2 separate regions of the Homo sapiens genome follow, and region 1 is linked to region 2. The links are contacts of gene promoters, found by promoter capture Hi-C in blood cells and fetal thymus (Javierre and others, 2016). All regions are on one chromosome and are shown on one strand. The core of a region is centred on a gene start or on the middle of the fragment in contact, and the rest is flanking DNA. Distances in the headings are between cores, read along the strand shown. Region 1 overlaps MTRR (5-methyltetrahydrofolate-homocysteine methyltransferase reductase). Region 2 holds the start of MED10 (mediator complex subunit 10).

Evidence for each region. The method cuts DNA at HindIII sites, captures the fragments that hold promoters and counts their contacts. A CHiCAGO score of 5 or more calls a contact.
Region 1: a contact is called between a fragment that was not itself captured here and the fragment with the promoter of MED10 in region 2, in 1 of 17 cell types (non-activated CD4 T cells). The highest score is 5.4, in non-activated CD4 T cells.

The regions. Positions count from the first base shown.
Region 1 is chr5:7,882,314-7,885,720 of GRCh38, reverse strand. MTRR (5-methyltetrahydrofolate-homocysteine methyltransferase reductase) reads right to left here. Exons shown (of 15, transcript NM_002454.3): 6 at 2,444-2,566; 7 at 1-20. Among named protein-coding and RNA genes, the nearest start is that of MTRR, 15 kb to the right of the region's middle. The HindIII fragment of the contact is 5,453 bases long and covers 1-3,407 here.
Region 2 is chr5:6,376,869-6,380,149 of GRCh38, reverse strand. It overlaps MED10 (mediator complex subunit 10), which reads left to right and starts at 1,603. Exons shown (of 4, transcript NM_032286.3): 1 at 1,603-1,788; 2 at 2,901-2,984. The coding sequence starts at 1,667. RefSeq lists enhancers at 1,149-1,368, 1,659-1,868. The HindIII fragment of the contact is 6,030 bases long and covers 1-3,252 here.

The DNA of each region.
Region 1 (3,407 bases), core at 1-2,500, 1.5 Mb before region 2:
TGATAGGAAAAGTCTGTATTCTAGAGAAGAGCCAAAATGAAAAAAAAAAAATACATTATACGTGTTACATAGTTTAAGCTGTAGGGTAACAAAAATATAGTTTTCAATATTATGATTTTAATATGTGAACTCAGAAAATAGAATTTCAAAAAAAAAAACACACAATTGTTTTAAAAAATAAGCCCAACTAACCAAATAAACATACTTTCATTATTAGCAGTTACTATTAAAACGAAATCTGGTAGTTACCCAGTGTTTTGCCTTTTATCATACTTAAAGAATGGAAGTCAGACCTTCCTTGTTCTCTACAAAGTAAGGTCCTATGGTGTTTTCAATAACCCATGTAAATATAAAAATCCCTCTTACAAAAACATACATGCACACACACACGAAAACATACATTATGACCAAAAGAAACTAATTATGGTCAAATGCATTGGTTTTCAATTTTCTTCTCCTTACTTTACTCTTTTCCTTTAGGGGACAGGAAAGGGTACTTTATTTCCTTAAGTATAAAACATTACACTATCTGGCTCGATACTGGTTGTGAGCAAACATGGGCTGAAAAAGTCACCACTTCCCAAGTCAAGTCTATTACTAGGCCCATTGCCTCTAAGCCCCAGAGTGATACAGATGCAGGCCAGGGCTCTGGGGAGGAGCCTCTCACAATGACACAAGCTCACATTTCTTGCCAGCAAGGGAGAGAGACTGGACTAAGCACAGACCAACCCTTGCCTCTTTATGACAAAAATGTAAAATACCAGAATAAAAAATATTTTGGTGTACATAGTATTAATATTTATGGATGCAAAACCATCTAGTTTTGACACATTGTATTTTTTTCTGTTAGGAAGTTTGATTAAATCTACACCAACAGCCTTAATGTGCCCTTGCTTTTCTGAAAGAATAACCCACTTAACCTCTCAAGACTTTCATAAAATAAACGGTTGAGCTAAATGACTTTGAAGAGGTACTCAAACACTTATTTTAGGATTATCAGTCAGTTTCTTAACCTAAGGTCAATGGATTCCAGCAGGGTGTGGAGGGTAGGAAGGGGGCCCATGGAGGGGGTGCATCGAGGCACATCTCAGACTAAAACTGTACGTAAATGTTTCTATATACAGTTGGCCCTCCATATCCTCAGGTTCTCCACCCTCAGAATCAACCAAACCTGAATGGAAAATATTTGGGACGGAAAAAAACAATAAAAAATAACAATAAAAATAATGTAAACTTAAAAATACAGTATAGCAACTACTTACGTGGTGTTAGATACTGTAAGTAATCTACAGATGACTTAAAGTGTAGGGGAGGATGTGCATAGATTATATACAAATACTGTAACATTTTACATAAGGGACTTGAGCTTTGAGGATTTGGGTATCTGAAAGGGGTCCTGGGACAAATCCTTCGAAGATACTAAGGGACAAGTGTAATCATTTTTTGGGAGAGTCCATAATTTTTTCCAGATTCTCAAGAAATCAAAACCACTGCTCTGAGGAATTAACCCTAACCTGCCTGTCTGGGTTCTATTTCTTTTCTTTTTTTAAAAAAATTGAGGCAGGGTCTCACTCTGTCACCCAGGCTGGAGTGCAGTGGCACAATTACAGCCCACTGTAGTCTCAACCTCCCAGGCTCAAGCAGTCCTCCCACCTCAGCCTCCCAAGTAGCTGGGACCATCGGTACACACCACCATGCCCAGCTACTTATTGTATTTTTTTGTAGAGACAAGGTCTTGCCATGTTACCCAGGAACTCCTGGGTTCAAGTGACCGCCTTCAGCCTCCCAAAGTGCTGGGATTATAGGCGAGAGCCACCTCGTTTGACCTTAGGCTCTATTTCTAACTTCCTGGCTGACCTTAGTGGACAGCTTCCTTTCCTGGGCCTCTTATATATAAAATGCTGTTCTGATCCCATTATTCTTTCATGGCTTATTGAGTAAGCCAGCATCTTCCTCTCAGGCTGAATCTCCTCCAGCCATTCTTCCCTAGTCCTTCCCTGAAGTGGAAAGAAAATAGGTGTGAAAATAGAAGAGAGAAAAAAATGATGGGTCAGGAATAAAATGGCAAGATGTCCTGTCAGAGACCTCTCATTCTTCTGAGCATGTATAACCAAGCACCACACAACTCAGCATACATAACCAAGCACCACACAACTCAGCATATGTAACCAAGCACCACACAACTCAGCATATGTAACCAAGCACCACACAACTCAGCATATGTAACCAAGCACCACACAACTCAGCATATGTAACCAAGCACCACACAACTCAGCATATGTAACCAAGCACCACACAACTCAGCACATGTAACCAAGCCGCACACAACTCAGCATATGTAACCAAGCAGCACACCACTCAGCATATATAACCAAGCACCACACAACTCTTTCTGCACATCCTGACAATATTACTGTGCTGAGAAATAAATTTTGCAACTTACTGAAATGTCCAATTCTACCAGCAGAGTGGTTTTTATGGCATCATTCGTAGTAAGTTGAACTGCCTTTGAAATTGGCACTTGAAAAACTGGATCTGCTGAAGTCACAGATACTTGGCTTTCCTCCTTGAAAAACAAATGTGACAAAACGTAAGTGCAATTTTCAATTATACCCTTCTTTCAATTAGTGACTACGCAAGATCCACAGGGGCTTACAAAACTTCCTGGCTACTCAGTATTCATTTCCAAGGTAAATGAATGAGGGCAGATATATGGAGCTAGCTTTTCAGAAGAGAAGCTCAATTCTATCTCAAACGCTTTATCTATTAGACATTAGAATTTCTGAAATACAAATAGAAAATAAAAATACTGGCATGTTCATGTAAAGATCTAGTAGTTTTCCTAATAAACTACGTCAAGGGAAACAGAATGTCTGCAAATGTTTCAGGAAGGAGAGATCTTGAAGAATGTGACAGATGTTTAAGAATGCAACATGTGTGTAGATGGTCACAGGAACCCCCTAGTGTGGGGCAATGCTGTTCATATGGCTGCTGAAATATGGCTGGTGAAATACAGGTAGTGTCACTAAGAAACTAATTATTAATCTTAACAAATGTTCATTAATTTAAATTTGAGTAGCTATATGTGGCCAGCAGCTCCTGTACTGGACACAGTAGGTCTTGGAAAACTGCAAAAAATCCCAGTTCTTTATAATACTCCCTACTCCTTTTCTATATTCCTAAGTTTAAAAACAAAATATTTTAACAGTACTAGTCAATTAACTGTGGATAAGTGGCTATATGGGAAAGCTGGGATGAAGGTCAGTTCTGGGTGTCTGGGAGCCATAATGTGGGGGTACTGAGATGTACCCCTAAGAAGACTGCCTTCTGCAAAGGCTATGGCAGTGCTGACAATGACTACCTCTGCCACCTGAAAGAAACACTTCAGCATTCTTAGGTCACACCTT
Region 2 (3,281 bases), core at 354-2,853:
TTATGTCTTCTTTTGAGAAGTATCTGTTCAGGTCCTTTGCCCATTTATAAATTTCTTCTTTTGCTTTTTTGCTGTTGAGTCGTGTGCCTTTAATTTTTGCACTTTACGTTGTGAGTTTTATTTTCCATGCTTGTTCTTTGCTTCTTTATTCTCTTCTTTTCTTGCCTTCTATTGAGTTGATTGTGTTTTCTTTATTCCCTTCCCCCTGTCTACTAGTTTGGGAATTATATATACTAGCAAAGAGATACCCTTAAATTTTTAAAATAAATACTTACCAAAGCCTAAGTTCCATCAATTATCTATCTTTCTTACTTATGAAATTGAGAAAGGCCGTTCACTCCATGTCGCTACCTCTACCTAATAACTTAAAATTTTTTATTTGTCTAATATTTTATTTCCACCTTTTTTTTTTTTTTTTGAGTCTTGCTCTGTTGCCCAGGCTGGAGTGCAGTGGCATGATCTCGGCTTACTGCAACCTCTGCCTCCTGGGTTCAAGCAATTCTCCTGTCTCAGCCTCCCAAGTAGCTGGGACTACAGGCGCACACCACCATGTCTGACTAATTTTTGTATTTTTAGTAGAGACAGGGTTTCTCCATATTGGTCAGGTCGGTCTCGAACTCCTCACCTCAGGTAATCCACCTGCCTTGGCCTTCCAAAGTTCTGGGATTACAGGCCTGAGCCACCACGCCCAGCCTCCATCTTGTTTTATAATTCCCTAAAGTTAATTGTTGTTAAATCAGGAGAGAAGTATTTTATGTAACATTTCTGTTTATCAGCCCAGCCCACCAACTGGAGTGCCCTGATTCCATAAGTTTGGCAAGTCACTTACCTTCTCTGGCTTTCCATTTCTGGTCACAGCTGGGAGAGGCTCTGAAGATCATCTAGCAAAGGAGCTCCCTCACTTTGCCTGTTTCTAGGCACTGAAAAGTACAGGCCACAAATATATTCAGTAAAATAAATCACTTGAGAAATTCAAACAGGCTAGAGGAGATATCCGCTATCATAGGAGATCGGGCAGAAAAGTTTCTTAAACATAAGAGTGAAATGACCTAAACTGAATTTCAATGAGATAAACAGCAGTTTACTAAGACAGGGCAACCCCACAGGGTGCTGTTTGGTCAGAATTGGCCCGAGGAGGTGAGACCCTGACCTACGAAGGCAGCAGGTGTCCGGGAAGCATGGTTAGCAGCAAGAGCTAGGGGAGGTGGCCGCCGATTACATAGAAGAAAGGAGGCAGGCAGGCGCTGATCCCAGGGGTTCTGGTAGAGGGGCAGGGAAACTACCGTTATTGGTCCTTCATGCAAACTTTAGGATTTTCATCCATGTGTGTATTGCTTGAAGATGCTGCATTGCAGAAAGTCTTCAACTTCTCCCATGACCGAGGCAGGTCTGATGAGAGTGCAAACAGTTAGTACTCGCCCAGCTGCGCGCCGAGGCCTCCTCCAGAATCCAGACCGCATCCCCGAAAGCCCGCCCTGCCCCGCACTTAGGCCCCGCCCCAACACGCCCGTCCCGATAACGAGGCTCCGCCCCCAAGAGCTCGCCCGCGCTCCCCCAGAGGAAACGGAAGTCGTATCTGTCCGGACGGAAGCAGGAAGCGGGAGCGTAGGGCCACGCCTGCGGCGCTGCTGGTTGAGGCTGTGTGGGTCGGGGACGGGCCGAGGCGATGGCGGAGAAGTTTGACCACCTAGAGGAGCACCTGGAGAAGTTCGTGGAGAACATTCGGCAGCTCGGCATCATCGTCAGTGACTTCCAGCCCAGCAGCCAGGCCGGGCTCAACCAAAAGCTGTGAGTGGCGGCCCGAGGCTGCCGGGGTCTCCCCAGGGCCTGGCCGGGAAGCGTGTGCTAGGGGAGCGGGGATCTAGGGAGCCCGAGCCGAGCCTGACCGCTACTCGTGCCCCGCCAGCCCTCTGGTCTGGTCCCGGAGCCCGGGGCGCCTTTCCTGGCTGTGTTCAGAGGGCGGGGCCCGCGCTCCAGCCTGTTGCCAAGAGCCAACCTCTTTGAGGCCCCTTTGGAGACGTCGTCATGGCCAGATGATATACTTTACGTTTCCCTATCAAGGGAATCATGCTTTCTCTTCTAGCGTCTCCCCTCTCATGTGTAACCCCCTCCCAGCCTTTTCCTCCTGGAGCCCTTCTGGGAATTCAGTCCCTGTCTCCAGAGGGGAGGCAGGCTCCACAGTGAGTGCACGCCCTAAACTAGGCCTCAGAAGGTGAGGCTCCGAAGCCACCTGCCGCATAGGCCTGACAGTGGAGGAAATAGCGGGGAGGTGGTGCTGAGAAAGGTTGCAGAACGTTTATTATTATTATTTCTTGGCAACAGCCTTGTGCTGCCCATGTTGCTAGGCCCTGGGTTGGAGAAAAGGCAAATGCAAGTACAGCACTTTCGAGAAGGGCTTTATATGTGGCACGGACATAGAAAATGTTGCACTCGAGGTTCCATACCTAGTGCTGTGGGAATAGCCAGACCAGCCTGATGCTGTAGGAAGGCTCCAGAGAGGAGAGGAAGCTAAACCAGACAGTATGGCTTTCTTTCCCTCAGACTTTGAGTATAGTCCGCTGCCTCATGTGTTCGCTGAAACCGCACACACAGTCATATGCACAGTCAGGTAATTGTTTTTGAGAGAAGGTTCATATTTTTCATCAGGTTCCCTCTCCATCCCCCTTACTGGCAATTTCTAGTTGAGAAGGAAAGTAACAAATATTTAAGGGTATTTTGTAACTCTAACGGTGTCCTAGGAATCCTGTAGCTAACCAAAGAGGTCAGAACCGTGTGTAACCCGCATAGCTGTGAGGAGAACGAACTTGCGTGGAGCCCCGGTTGGCTGGGTAGCTCTGTGGGTGGTGCTTATGCTGTCAAGCGAAATTAACCAGATGCCTGTGTGTTTGCCTTTCCCCCAGGAATTTTATTGTTACTGGCTTACAGGATATTGACAAGTGCAGACAGCAGCTTCATGATATTACTGTACCGTTAGAAGTTTTTGAGTAAGTAACATTCTTGATATTAGTCTTGGGTATAAATCTTGTTCAGTTATGGTGTGGTATCGTGACTTCTTCATCACTGGCATTCGAGTGCCTGCTGTGTGGTAGGCACAGCCTGGGTGCTGGGGATGTGCCAGTGGAAAAAAAAATAGACAAAAATACAAAAATACCTGCCCTTATGGAACTTCCGTTCTAATGGCATTACAAAACGAAAAAAAAGAATATCCTTAATATTCTATTGTGGAAAAAAAGTTACATGTAAATAAAAGCTTATTAAATATATGAAATACATCATAGGTC